Linked DNA regions of Homo sapiens: regions 1, 3, 4 and 5 are each linked to region 2. The links are contacts of gene promoters, found by promoter capture Hi-C in blood cells and fetal thymus (Javierre and others, 2016). All regions are on one chromosome and are shown on one strand. Each heading gives the region's core, a stretch centred on a gene start or on the middle of the fragment in contact. The rest is flanking DNA. Distances are from core to core; before and after follow the strand shown. Region 1 overlaps GEN1 (GEN1 Holliday junction 5' flap endonuclease). Region 2 holds the start of RDH14 (retinol dehydrogenase 14). Region 3 has its middle 19 kb from the start of OSR1. Region 4 has its middle 16 kb from the start of MIR4757. Region 5 overlaps LINC01808 (long intergenic non-protein coding RNA 1808).

Evidence for each region. Contacts are between HindIII fragments. The CHiCAGO score rates a contact against its expected background, and 5 or more counts as called.
Region 1: a fragment that was not itself captured here is called in contact with the fragment with the promoter of RDH14 in region 2 in 2 of 17 cell types (non-activated CD4 T cells and total CD8 T cells); the score reaches 5.7 in non-activated CD4 T cells.
Region 3: a fragment that was not itself captured here is called in contact with the fragment with the promoter of RDH14 in region 2 in 3 of 17 cell types (total CD4 T cells, naive B cells and naive CD8 T cells); the score reaches 6.3 in total CD4 T cells.
Region 4: a contact is called between a fragment that was not itself captured here and the fragment with the promoter of RDH14 in region 2, in 2 of 17 cell types (total CD4 T cells and total CD8 T cells). The highest score is 7.2, in total CD4 T cells.
Region 5: a fragment that was not itself captured here is called in contact with the fragment with the promoter of RDH14 in region 2 in 1 of 17 cell types (total CD4 T cells); the score reaches 5.5 in total CD4 T cells.

Annotation. Positions count from the first base shown.
Region 1 is chr2:17,760,285-17,762,984 of GRCh38, reverse strand. GEN1 (GEN1 Holliday junction 5' flap endonuclease) reads right to left here. Exons shown (of 14, transcript NM_001130009.3): 3 at 1,403-1,589. Among named protein-coding and RNA genes, the nearest start is that of GEN1, 7.5 kb to the right of the region's middle. The HindIII fragment of the contact is 904 bases long and covers 815-1,718 here.
Region 2 is chr2:18,559,302-18,562,001 of GRCh38, reverse strand. It overlaps RDH14 (retinol dehydrogenase 14), which reads left to right and starts at 1,349. Exons shown (of 2, transcript NM_020905.4): 1 at 1,349-1,822. The coding sequence starts at 1,430. All of the region lies in intron 10 of NT5C1B-RDH14 (NT5C1B-RDH14 readthrough), which reads left to right. LOC105373456 (a long non-coding RNA gene) reads right to left here and starts at 1,826. Exons shown (of 6, transcript XR_007086234.1): 1 at 1,311-1,826. RefSeq lists enhancers at 940-1,159, 1,170-1,219, 1,280-1,329, 2,140-2,189 and a silencer at 1,420-1,929. The HindIII fragment of the contact is 4,929 bases long and covers 570-2,700 here.
Region 3 is chr2:19,376,031-19,378,730 of GRCh38, reverse strand. No RefSeq gene overlaps it. Among named protein-coding and RNA genes, the nearest start is that of OSR1, 19 kb to the right of the region's middle. The HindIII fragment of the contact is 5,929 bases long and covers 1-2,700 here.
Region 4 is chr2:19,331,221-19,333,920 of GRCh38, reverse strand. No RefSeq gene overlaps it. Among named protein-coding and RNA genes, the nearest start is that of MIR4757, 16 kb to the left of the region's middle. The HindIII fragment of the contact is 9,961 bases long and covers 1-2,700 here.
Region 5 is chr2:19,477,073-19,479,772 of GRCh38, reverse strand. LINC01808 (long intergenic non-protein coding RNA 1808) reads right to left here. Exons shown (of 6, transcript NR_183418.1): 3 at 489-549. Among named protein-coding and RNA genes, the nearest start is that of LINC01808, 9.5 kb to the right of the region's middle. The HindIII fragment of the contact is 944 bases long and covers 860-1,803 here.

The sequences.
Region 1 (2,700 bases), core at 17-2,516, 800 kb after region 2:
ATTAAAAGACAAATGCATATTAAATATCTTTGTTGTTGCACACTAAATATTACAAAGACAAGCCTCCTAACATCCAATGTTCTTGTGAGTGCACCGACACTGCTTCTCTGACATCTGCATTAGCAGAAATTAATCAGCAAGAGCAATAAAATCATTCCAAAACTTTGACCCATCAATCCAACATTGGGTAATTTTATCTAAAATTTCAAATCACAAGAAAACATTATATACACAAAAAATGTTAATCACACTTCCATGTATAGTAGAGAAAAACTAAAAAAGTAAATAACATATACAATCAGGGGTATGATTCATAGCTTCATACATGTTGCACAACCACTACAAGTTATGATTTTGATTAGAATGTGACAAAAGGGAAATATGACAACATGAAGCATTAAGTGAAAAGGCTAGGTTAAAAATCATGTGTACTACTACAACTCTTTAAAAATACACACATTTGAAAACAGACAAAAAAGGCCAGGCACAGGGGCTCACACCTGTAATCCCAGCACTTCAGGAGGCCGAGGCAGGCGGATCACGAAGTCAGGAGATCGAGACCATTCTGGCTAACACAGTGAAACCCTGTCTCTACTAAAAAAAAAACAAAAAAAACTTAGCCAGGTGTGGTGGCGGGCGCCTGTAGTCCCAGCTACTCGGGAGGCTGAGGCAGGAAAATGGTGAGAACCCAGGAGGCGGAGCTTGCAGTGAGCCGAGATTGCGCCACTGCACTCCAGCCTGGGTGACAGAGCGAGACTCCATCTCAAAAAAAAAAAAAAAACAACCAAAAAAAGAAAACAGAAAAAAAAAAGCTTCCTATTGTTTTAATTATATACTATAGATGATTTCTTTCTTAAGTTTCATACAAATATAAAATATAGCAATATTAAAGTAACATATAAATAATATATTATAATGTAACGACAGTTTTTAAAATTACAAGCCCTAAGGGAAGCCAAATATATATTCTGTATATGAACTATCATGAATTCTGAATGAGTGAAGTACGAATTAATGAGATCTCATGTATTCTGGGACTTCTTTAAGTCCTGAAGGTGTTATAAAAGGTAATATGATCAAGTTCCTACCATGTACTAGTTGCTTTAGATATACTTTCTCTTATTTTTATCACATCCCTGCTGAGTATTACTGTTGTCATTTCACAAGGTAACATACAAGGTAGAGATAGGTTACAAATTTTGCTCAGTGTCTCAGAGTTTCTACATACCAGTGCCAAGAATGAAACTCAGGTCAATTTCACTCTAAAAAATAAACTCTTTTCTCTAGGCACATCCCTGCTAGTCACAATAAAATTAATAAGTATTAAAGATGACAAACTATTAAGAGTAAAATGCACCCTTTAATTCAAATCGGAATTACTGAATCAAATCTGAATGCTCACCTCTCTTAAGACTGATTTAAAATGTGATCTCCCTGTTTTCTGAGACCACGATTTTCCAGAAGACCCATACCGAGACTGATTCCTCTTGCTTATGACATCAGCTTTCAGCTTTGGTGGTTCCCCTTCCATAACAAATACCAGTTTTACATCCATTTGTGTTAAATATGAGATACGAAAAAATAAGTTCCTGAAATATATAAATTAGTAATACATTAATCATCAAACACTGATAGTAAAAGTCAAAATAGTATAACACAAAGGCAAGAACATTAGACTAGTATCAAAAACGTTAATGTAATAACATTTTACTTAAGCTTTAATTAGAGTGGAAAACCACTGAATTTTCTTTTTCTTTGACAGAGTCTCACTCTGTCACCCAGGCTGGAGTGCAGTGGCATGATCTTGTCTCAGTGCAGCCTCAATCTCCTGGCTCAAGTGATCTTCCTGCCTCAGTCCCCAAGCAGCTGGGACTACAGGTGTGTGCCACCATGCCCGGCTAATTTTCTGTATTTTTTGTAGAGATGGGGTTTCACCATGTTGCCCAGGCTGGTCTTGAACTCCTGAGCTCAAATAATCCGCCCATCTCAGCCTCGCAAAGTGCTAGGAATACAAGTGTGAGCCACTGTGCCCGGCCAAAACCACTGATTTTTTTTTTTTTTTTGAGGTGGAGTCTCACTCTGTTGCCCAGGCTGGAGTGCAGTGGTGTGATCTCGGCTCACTGCAACCTCCACCTCCCAGGTTCAAGTGATTTTCCTGCCTCAGCATCCCAAGTAGCTGGGATTACAGGCATCTGCCACCACACCCAGCTAATTTTTTTTTATTTTTAGTAGAGATGGGGTTTCTCCATCTTGGCCAGGCTGGTCTCAAACTCCTGACTTTGTGATCCACCTGCCTCGGCCTCCCAAAGTGCTGGGATTACAGGCGTGAGCCACTGCACGCGGCCAAACCACTGAATATTTTTAAGCAAGAAAGATTTATGATTATTCTAATTGCTATGTGGAAAATAGTCTGGGGTAGGGGAGGCCAAGAGCAAGAAACTAGTGAAGATGGCACTTCAGGAGTATAGATGAGAGATGAGGTTGGCATAGACTGAGGTGGTGCCTCTGGACACTGAGATAAGTTTGTGAACACAAAGTATATTTTGGAGGTAGAACTGGCAAGACTTACTGACGGATTAGATGTGGAGAGAAGTAAAATAGGGAGAAAATGTCTCCCAAATCTCCGGCTTTTAGTATCTGAAGCATCCTAGTGGATACGTTAAGTAGGAGATAGCTATGTGAGTCTGGAGCTCAAAGGGT
Region 2 (2,700 bases), core at 100-2,599:
CCCCAGTAAGAGTGCTCTTTCCCACCTCTGAGCTCCATTCTCATTACTCATAAGAAACCTCCTGGAATCCATCCCTTTTTCTTTGTATTCTGACTATTAGTTGCATGTTACATCCTTCCCAAATGTAAGGGAGTGGAAGATGGATTATCACAATTATTGGGGAGTTTGTCTCAAACGACACAAGCTGTGGTTCTTTTTCCTTGTCTGGAGAACCTGCAATGGGTGGAGGGTGGGAAGTGGGAGATCACAGTTCCAGAAAGTAAGCACCCTGAGAGCAGAAATGGTGTCCCATTTCTCTGTGGCTCTAACAGGGAACAGGCAGGGCCAGGCACATATTGGATGGAGAGGCAGACGAACGAATGAGTCTTTAAAAGTAGCTTGGTCTACAGCTATGAAGTTTGTAGCTTGAAGAAGGGTCCCTGTGACACTAACCCTGATATTAATGAGGCATTTTACAGTGAGCCAAGCACTTTGCCTTCCATCGTTGTGTGTAATAGTCCTATGGAGAGGGCAGGGAGGCATTTGTAAATGGCCTGCTCAGAAGCCTATATTTACAATAAGTCCAAGCTTTTCCCACTGTACCTCTGCCAGTGTGAAGATCATTTGAAGATGGCTTTCTTTTTTTTAATAGGGACCAATGACATAATGTCTTGTTCAGTGGTTCTCAAAGTGTGGTTCCCAGATCTGCAGCAGCAGCAGCACCTGGAAACTTGTTAAAAGTGCAAATTATCAGGCCCCATCCTGTACCTATTGAATTAGAAACTCTAATACTGGGGCCCTGGTTTTTTGTTTTCGTTTTGTTTCATTCCCCCACCCCGAACCCCCACCCCAAGTCCTCCAGGTGATTCTGATGTGCATTTAAGTTTGAGAACTACTCGACCATTCTATTTCCAACTGATTCATGTTGCTTAATTCTTTGTCTCATCTATGAAAAACAGTCCTACCTCAGACTTCAGCTTGTCAGGGCCCATTCCTCAGAAGGTGAATTGAACTGAATTTACAAGTCCCAAGAGCCCTCAAAGGAAAACACACGAAATGCCCTGAGGAGTGGCATTTGTAACAGGGCCTGTACAGAGATCTGTGATTCAAAGTACTCATCAGACATTCCCATGGGGAAGTCCGCCACTACTCTGGGATTTCAATACGTATGAACCCCAGCACCCTGAACACTGTGCTGGTTGCCCAGCCTCCATCATTAGGCTGGGAGGAGCTTCCACGGAGGGCGCAGGACCCAGGGCGCTGAACTCTCACAACCAATCAGGCGACCCCCCCAGAGGGAAACTACAAGTCCCAGCATGCCCCACGCGCACCGTCAGGGGCCGACCCGCCGCGCCCCAGCGTTCTCCGCGTACAGGTGGTCTCTTGGGTTCCGGTAAGGCGGCGGCTGCGGAACTCCCGTGGAGGGGCCGGTGGGCCCTCGGGCCTGACGATGGCAGTGGCCACTGCGGCGGCAGTACTGGCCGCTCTGGGCGGGGCGCTGTGGCTGGCGGCCCGCCGGTTCGTGGGGCCCAGGGTCCAGCGGCTGCGCAGAGGCGGGGACCCCGGCCTCATGCACGGGAAGACTGTGCTGATCACCGGGGCGAACAGCGGCCTGGGCCGCGCCACGGCCGCCGAGCTACTGCGCCTGGGAGCGCGGGTGATCATGGGCTGCCGGGACCGCGCGCGCGCCGAGGAGGCGGCGGGTCAGCTCCGCCGCGAGCTCCGCCAGGCCGCGGAGTGCGGCCCAGAGCCTGGCGTCAGCGGGGTGGGCGAGCTCATAGTCCGGGAGCTGGACCTCGCCTCGCTGCGCTCGGTGCGCGCCTTCTGCCAGGAAATGCTCCAGGTGTGGGCCTCGGGGGGCCGGGCTGGTGGGGAGGGCCTGGGCACGGTGTGGGAGGGGACTGCGGGCTGGGGCTGAGCCGCGAGGGACCGCCCTGGGGTTCAGGGTGTCACCTTGGGAACCGCTGAGGCTGAGAGGAGTCCAAAAAGCCACTTTGAGGCGGCCGGGAAGCTGCAGGGTTGAGAGGGAAAGAGAAACTAACTGGGAGGGCTGCCTTCTGTCCTCTAAGGATGTCGAAAAAGAAATGGGCCCAAGAGAAAAATAAATAAACCAGTTTCTGAACGTTTCATTTCGTTACGTGAGGACCGCCCCGAAGTAGATCCATGGCCTCTGAATTGTTTTTCCTGTGTCAGAAGTGAATTTGCACCAAGCTGTGTCTTCAGAACCCCTGAGCACTGGGGGAAGTTGCTAGCTAAGGACCTCATATCAGTCCTTTAAAAAAAGTTCTCCTTCCCCCGGCCTCTGCCCCTTTTCTGCTGGGGTAAGGAGCTCGCTGCCACCAGTAAACTCAGCACCATCCTTAACGGGACTGTGGCCTGATTTCCAAGTAGAATACATTTTGGAACCCAGTGGTCATGCTCCATACAGAGACAGGAATAAAAATAACACCCAGCATTATTGAAGATCTGTATGCCAGGAGCTGTGCCAAGCATTTCAGATTTTCCTTTTTGTCTTAAATGAAAATGAAGTGTCCTTGCCTATAACTGTCATTGAAGCTACACAGTAACCCTGTGGAGTAGGCATTATTATCATCCCTGTTTTACAACGCGAGGAAACTGAGGCATAGGAAGGCTAAGAAACTTGCTTGTGGTCTGTCTCCAGAACACTTGCTTTTAACCCTTGTTCTTTCCTCCTGCTGCCTGGCAGTGAGGTGTGAGGAT
Region 3 (2,700 bases), core at 65-2,564, 820 kb before region 2:
TCTCTAACTCTCCCTCTACATAGTTAACTATTTCATGTATTAGAAATACAAATATAGTTATTTAAAAGGGGAGGAAGTTAAAAGTAATCTAGAGGTTTCTGTCTTCTGTGGTTTTACAAAAGCAACAGAGCCAGGTGCACCATCCCTAGCCTGGACATCAGTCCCCCATCTCACCATCTGCTGGAAGAAGAACATCTATCTAAGCACATTACCTGGAGAGAGGCAACAAAATAGTACACAAGTACTTGGACAAAGTGACATTTTAGTTAGTACCTTGCTCATTAGAAATGCAAGTGTTCAAAATTGCCTTGATGGTGTTCTTAAGGCAACAACTCTTTCAATATGCCACCTATAGAGCAGAGAGAGCACTGGGCAGAAAGTCATGCAGACCAGTATTCCAGCTCAACCACTCTCTGACATCCGAGCTTTAGAAAATTTCTCTCTCTTGATCTTAATATTCTAAACCATAAAATTAGGAGGTCAATAAAATCTCAAGGGTCCTGTCAAAGCTGATGTTCCATGATCTTTCATTTAGCCAAGCTCTCCAGATGAGCAGTTAGAAAGAGAATCACCTGTACGGAGAATTTTAGAATGGCTCTTTCCCTTACTTGGTTTGTTTTACTGTGCCCCAGATGTGGCCACATCAGGAAGTGGTCTGGAAGTGCCTGAATGCTCCTACTTGGGCAATCTCAGGCTGCTGTGGGGTAATATCCATGTCATTATGTAGGAAACATAGGGAAACAAAGGAAAGTCTCTGATTCCACTTTTTCTTGACAAAATAACACTCCGGGTTCCCAACCACAAGGAGGCACTGCACTGTCAGAAAGGGCTAGGACCCTCCAGCAAGGAGCTAGTGCTGGGTTCATCAAAGTCTATACCAGCAGACTGACCCACAAGATGAGTGGATGTGGGTCAGCGTCAGGATGGGTTCATGAAGGTCAGGCTCTGGGAGAAAAGAGGGCGGCCCCCAGACAGTGAGGCCATGAATGTGGGAAAGCAGTCAGAGCTGAACAGTCAAGGAACAGCCCAAGTCAGAAGAGAAGGGCACTTCCTGACCTTGACCGTTCGAGAACATCCTAATTCAGAGGTTTTCACCAAGGCCCAAAGTCCCATTCTTCCCTATGTATCTCATTCCCTTGGCCCCAGTGGTATAATGTAGACACACGAGCTAACGTTCAGAAGGGGGTCAAAACACCAGTGTTAACACTCCATCGTTCCAAGTTCTTAGTAAGTGTCCACCTGCGCTAGACAAAGATCACTCTTGGAAACCAAGTAGCTAGTATTCCATTCAGAAGAATTTCCACATAACTTCCTTTTGTGCTCTTAAAATTTAAGTGCCCAGATGTGATCTTTGAGGCATTTAGCTACCCTGAGACTCATGCTTCACTCAGAATTCAAAGTCTTTGATTTTCTTTTTTAAGCACAAACATAAGGATTTGAAGTGGTAACTTTTTCCATATTGTGGTCCTCAACTTCGTTTTCCAAAATTCTTTTTTCTGCTAAATATAGAGCAAAGTTACCTGTAGAGCGTCTTCAATATTTTTTGAACTTATATATATATCTAGAAGAAATAAAATAATTTTCTTATTATAAATGGGCATTTTAAATAAAATACAGCTACAGTAAAAATAAGATGAAAAATTTAAATGTACAAATGATCATAATATTTTAATGGCATATATTTTATTCATCTACACAGCTAAGGTCTTGTTTTGGCAGGAAAAGAGTAAAGTTATTAAAGTTAAGTTTTGTTTAAACTTATATAATTGTTATAATTTATTTCAGTTAAACTCTTTTTTCTTTGTTAAAATAGTTGTTACCTATCACGTAAATTGAATTATGTCCTTGAATTTATCATGAGTTTGTTTTCATTTCTGTTCTTGGTGTGAAGGTTCAGACGTAGGAAATGGTTTCCTGTATGAATCCCTGTGATAAAGACACCACATTAACTTAAAGAATAATTTCTTTAAGTGATGCACTTATGAATTTGTTTAATTTCATTTCTTATAGTAGAAATTAGCTGTTTTAGAATCTTTAAGCATTTTACACACCTTCTATGGATAGAGTTCTAGTAAGGAGATGATTCTCCCTTAATGAGCACAATGAGTGTTTCAAGTAGCAACGCTGCCTGATACCTAGGGTCTTTGTCTGTGAACTATTTAGCATTTAGTAAGCTCAGCTTTGGGTGAATGGTATGGTCGGGGGAGTGAGGAGAGAAAGGATTTCCTTTCCTGTCCTTAGGGAACTTTAATTCTTACTGGGAATATAAGTAACAATCAAGAAACAGTAAGAACTAGAAGAATTACTTGTATTTGGGATACAAAATGTCCCCAGATATAACGCTTGCTCCCACCCAATCTCCAATATACCTACACTGTTTGGTATTCTTTGGAAAAGGTGAGGTGGGAGAACCTCTGTTTCCCTAAGCCCTCAAAGACCAGTTTTGAGATTTTCCTTATTTTCTTCCATCATTAACACTTTCCAGGAGATAAGACAAAGAGGGTACAGGATTGTGATGATTAATTTTATATGTCTACTTGACTGGGCCAAAGGGTGCCCAGATATTTGATCAAACATTATGCTGGGTATATCTGAATGGAATTAACATTTAAATATATAAATTAAATAAAGTAGATTGTCTTCCCTAATATAGGTGGACCTCATCCAATCAATTGAAAATCTGAATGGAACAAAAAGGCT
Region 4 (2,700 bases), core at 5-2,504, 770 kb before region 2:
AGAGTGAGACTCTGTCTCAAAAAACAAAAAACAAAACAAAAAAAACTTCCATTCAACTATCAAAATCAAAATCAGAAAATTAACACTGATATATTACTGCCATCTAACCTGCAGATCTCATTCAAGTTTCACCAATTTGCCTAACAATGGCTTTTATAGAAAAAGGATCCAAGTCATGATCTTATATTGCATTCAGTTGTCATGTGTCTTTAGTCTCCTTCAGTCTCAACTTGTTTCTTAGTCTTTCCATGACTTTCATAATCACAACAATTTTGAAGATGATAGGCTGATTATATGGTAAAATGTCCCACCTTTGGGACTGTGTAATAAGTCCTCATGATTAGATTTGGAGAAGTGATGCTGTGCTTTTTTGGGGTATGGTAAGGTTAAGAATCATTATACAATAGCTACAAATTGTTGAACACATACTATATAAAATACACTTCACTAGGCACTTCACATATTTTAGCTCTTATAATCCACACAAGCACACTAAAAAGTGAGTATTATTGTTCTTATTTTATAGATGAGGAATCTGAAGCTAAGAGAAGTTAAGTGATTTGTCTAATGTCACTTAGTAAGCTGCAGAACTGAGCCCAGGTCTCAGGCCTGTGTCCCTCCCAGCCTGTGCCTTGTGCCCTGCACCGTGCTGCCAAGTTGACTCCTATCTTGAACCTGCCTGGGGAATGTCAACATGGGCATCACACAAGAACACAGGAAATCCCACTTTCGTAAATATTCTCCAGACTCAACACTTACTAGTTGTATGGCTTGGACAACTAAGTTAATTTTCCTTGGCTTCATTCATTCATTCATCGACTTAATGATTACTTCTTGAGCACTTAGACACAGGCAGTGTTCTAGGCCCTGGAATTACAGCAACGTAAGACAAAGTCCTTGTGGAATCTGTCTTCTAGGATAGCTCTAGTTTCACTATTTGTAAAATGGGGTAATTAAAATATATGCATAATTGAATTGTGAAGAATAAATAAAATCATTCATGTAATGAGCTTAGCCCAGTGAAGATACATCATAATTTAATGTGTCAGCTATTATGTAAAGATCATGAACAGTGAGAAGCCGATCCAACTCTTGACTCAGTGACAGTGCTCTGAGATAAGGAGGGAGATATAGGATGGGGGAGGCCTGCAGCCTAGGAAGCACACTTTTTCCAGATCTGGGATCAAAGCACAAAGCTGGAAGATAATGATCTCAATGAGGACATTGGCAAGGCCTCCCAAAAAGCAGAGCCTAGAGGACACACATCAACACCAATTACTTGTTCAGCATGTGCTTCTCTGCTCTGATTGCCCAGAGCTGTGGCCAAGGATTCCACATTGCATAGCAAAAAACAAACAAACAAAAAACAAACGGTGAGGACTAAAGGCAATGTAACACAAGTTGGAGTGTGTGGAGAGCATTGCTGTTTTTAAATTTTGGTTTTCTTAAATGGCTCACTGTCTTAGATGCCTATCTTAAATTCCCACACCTTAACATGTGGTATTAACTCCAACAGAAAACATGCAACCAGCCAAAAGCCAACATAGTTTAAGAAATTTAATATTTTATATGCATCACATTTTAGAAAACTGTTTTTTTTTATTTTTGTGGAGGAATGGGGTAACCACCACTGGACATTTTACTTTGCCTCAGGGATACAGTTCTGAAACTTGGAGTTTATACCATAACTTGGCTAATCTGCTCAGATTCAGCATCTGTAACTCCTTTAAGTGGCATTTAGTATTATGACAGGAAATCTTTACTGTTTTTCTATTATGAAGAAACATTAGTAGACTGTATTGTAATATGTGTTCAAATTGGGTTACCGTCTCTGATGAACTGCAGAAGAAATGGAAACAGATAGTGAGTGGAACAGGGATGCTGGTGCAATCAATCCCCAATCTCACAGCACGCACCTTGGGGCCCACAGACTGAGGGTCACATCTTCCTAGAGTTTCCTGAGATGGAGAAAATGATTTCTTTCTCTCAGTTGGTGCAATGCTTACATGGGACAATGTGTGCAATTAACCTGGCACACAGTAGTTATTCAGCAAAAATAATTTCCATTGTTATCTCCTGTTTTATGAATTCAGCTTTCTTCAGAATTTTAAAAAAAGCAGTTATAAATTAAACCACATTGGTTTCTTATTCATAGCTGGAGGGCCTGGCACATAGAAGGTGTGATCATGGGAGTCTGTGGGATGAATTATTTGTGGTGCTTGATGGAAAAGTGTTTCCTGGCCAACTCCCTTATTGGCAGCAGCAGGGGGTAGGTTTGGTGGTTCTGTGATGTCTCCCAACTCTGGAGCTGTGCACACAGACAGGCTAGACTCTTCCTGGCTAAGGCTCATGGGAGAGTTATTCTTGTTTCAGTTTGGGCAAAAATTCTATGCACATGCTCTGCCTTTAAATTCACTTTTCAGATACTTGGCTTCATTCTATGTGCCTGAAACTTTACCAGAATTTAGGAATTCAGGGAAGAATTAGACACCTTTAGGTAGTCAATAATTAGGTACCAGGGAAACTTATGTGCACAGATACACCCATGCATACATCAACATATGCATGTGTGTGTATGTGTGTGTGTGTGTGTGTGAGCATATATATTATATATATATGTATTTATTTATATATATATGTGGAGGTGGTATCCTAAGGTAAGGGGAAACAATGTGGGAGACTCAAAGTTGTGAGTGTGAG
Region 5 (2,700 bases), core at 82-2,581, 920 kb before region 2:
ATTCTTATATTTTCTGCATTTTCTCCTTCCCAAAGCAATAAAAATACCTAGTTTTTTGTTGTGGTTGTTGGGTTTTTGTTTTTTTTTTTTAATTGAAACTGAGTCTCACTCTATTGCCCAGGCTGGTGTACAGTGACGTGATCTCAGCTCACTGCAACCTCTGCCTCCCTGGTTCAAGCGATTCTTGTGCCTCAGCCTCCCGAGTAGCTAGGATTACAGGCGCCCACCACCACACCAGGCTAATTTTTGTATTTTTAGTAGAGATGGGGTTTCACCGTGTTGGCCAGGCTGGTCTCAAACTCCTGACCTCAAGTGATCCGCCCACCTTGGCCTCCCAAAGTGCGGGATTACAGATGTGAGCCACTGTTCCCAGCCAAAATATCTAGGTTTTTAGGTAATGGTTCCATGAAGAAGCATAGAATTAGTAATAATGCACTGATTACTGCTTCAGAAAACCACCTCGATACACTAGAATTGCCACAATTTACCTTGCCCACTTTAGCGAAGATCAGATTCTCATGAGAATCAGGGGAAGGAAGGTAGAGTCCACTAGGGGTAGCAAGGAGACCAAAAGGGGAAAATTCCAAAAAATGGAAAGTGAGTAGACATCAAAATTTTCTTTATGTTTACCATTAAGAATGCTTTCAAAAGGCATCATAAAAATATGGGAGGCAAACTAAAAAAAAAAAAAAAATGTGTTAGTTTCAGCTCTACCATTTCATAGCCATATAACATTTGATAAGACAATCTTACTAGTTTCTTCATCTGTGCAGTGGATATAATAATATTTGCCTGGCTTGTTTACTTTAGAGATATGTATCTACATGGAAATCTGAGTAGATGTTATATTTAATAAGCTTTGTCCTCTATAGAGAAGAAATAACTGTGCCTAACAATAATTGTATGAAACATGATAATTAAGAAAGACCTATGTTCCTTAAATGACAAGTGGTCTTACTTTCTATTTTAAAAGATAGGCATCTTTCCAAACTTAATAGATCTTTTTCTGTCTCTTCCTTTTTTCCCCCAGGAATAATTTAGGCAGTGACTACTACAATTGCATTTATCTTCAAGTCTGACCTAGAACTTAAGTCTGTAGCTGAACTTTTGTGTAACTTATTAGTCATTGAGCATTGCAGAAGATCGAGTACTTGGTAAATGAGATGTACATGCATTATGGTTTGAAAATTTATCCCCTCCAAAACTCATGTTAAAATTTAATCCACAATGAGGCAGTATTCAGAGGTGGGGCCTTTATGAAGTGATTGAGTCATGAAGGCTCTGCCCTCCTGGATGGATTAATCCATTGATGGGCTAATGCATTAATGTGTGAATGGATTGATGGGTAATCATGAGAATGAAACTGGTGGCTTTATAAGAAGAGGAAGAGAGACCTGAGCTAGCACAGTCAGCCTCCTTGCCATGTGATGCCCTATGCCACCTTGGGACTCTGAAGAGGGTCCCCACCAGCAAGGAGGCTCTCACGAGATATAGCCCCTCAGTCATGGACATCTCAGCCTCCCTGATTGTAAGAAATCCATTTTCATTTCTACCCAGTCTTAGGTATTCAGTTATAAGCAACAGAAAATAGACTAAGACAGTGTAGCAGTGGACTGTGGATAGTAAAAATCAAAGGATGATAATGTGGCCCCTGTTCTTGAAAAATTCCAAGTCCTACTGAGAAGACATTTGTTTAATCATTATTTATTATTTCAATAAATATTTATCAAGCCTCCCCATGTTCCAGGTATTGTTCTAGGTGCTAAGATTACAGCAGAGAACAAACGTTTTTTAAATGAAGCTTTCATTTTTGTGAGACTTTAATCAAATGTACAAAACAAGAGTAAGTTTTTGAAACATAAGTCATTACTAAATCATGTGATACAGAGGATTAGTGATGTTCGAAGGCAAAGGAGAAAAGATGAATGTGAGGGTGTTGGTTGAAAAATGCAACTTTCAATAAATTACATCTTAAGCTGGATCTGAAGTTTAGAAGAAATCTTTCAAATGAAAGGAAGAAATACAAGGAAAAGACTCTAGAGTAAGCATGATTTATTTGTAGACATAGAGGAAATTTGCTTGACTTAAACAACAGGTATATTTTGGAGAATTGGTGAATCCAACTGGAGAAGTACTGTGAAAAACTATGACAACTAAACTGAGAAATTTAGTTTCAATGGAATTGGGAGTAAAGGGCCATGGAAAGTTCTGGGTGGAGTGGTGGTCAAATATTGGTGATATAAGGGTGTGTAATGTAATGAGCATTGTCTTTAGATAATATGGATTTGGTGCACTCAAAATTCAGGCCACAGGGAGAATTACACATGAATTTTTATTTTCAAAGGCCCACACACTCTGAAGATTGTAAATTACCTGGAAAATTGATTATTTGTATAATCTTGACAAGTCTGCATAAAAAATAATTTCCCCTGAAATCCAGATTACTAACTTAATAAAAAGAATATGTTTGTCTTAGTTTCTAAGCTATGTAGTTACATAGAGCTGTGTACATTCACCTTCATGACATTTACATGTGGGATAATGGATGTGGATTTAATGCAATGATTAATGATTTGTTCACTTGGAGTTACCAAGTCATGTTTCTATTGAAGGTGGGGGACTAAAAATAGGAGTTTAGATTTTTTAGGAACAATCTCATCACACACAGAGAGAAAGGGGTTGGAGAATCAATTTAGGAAC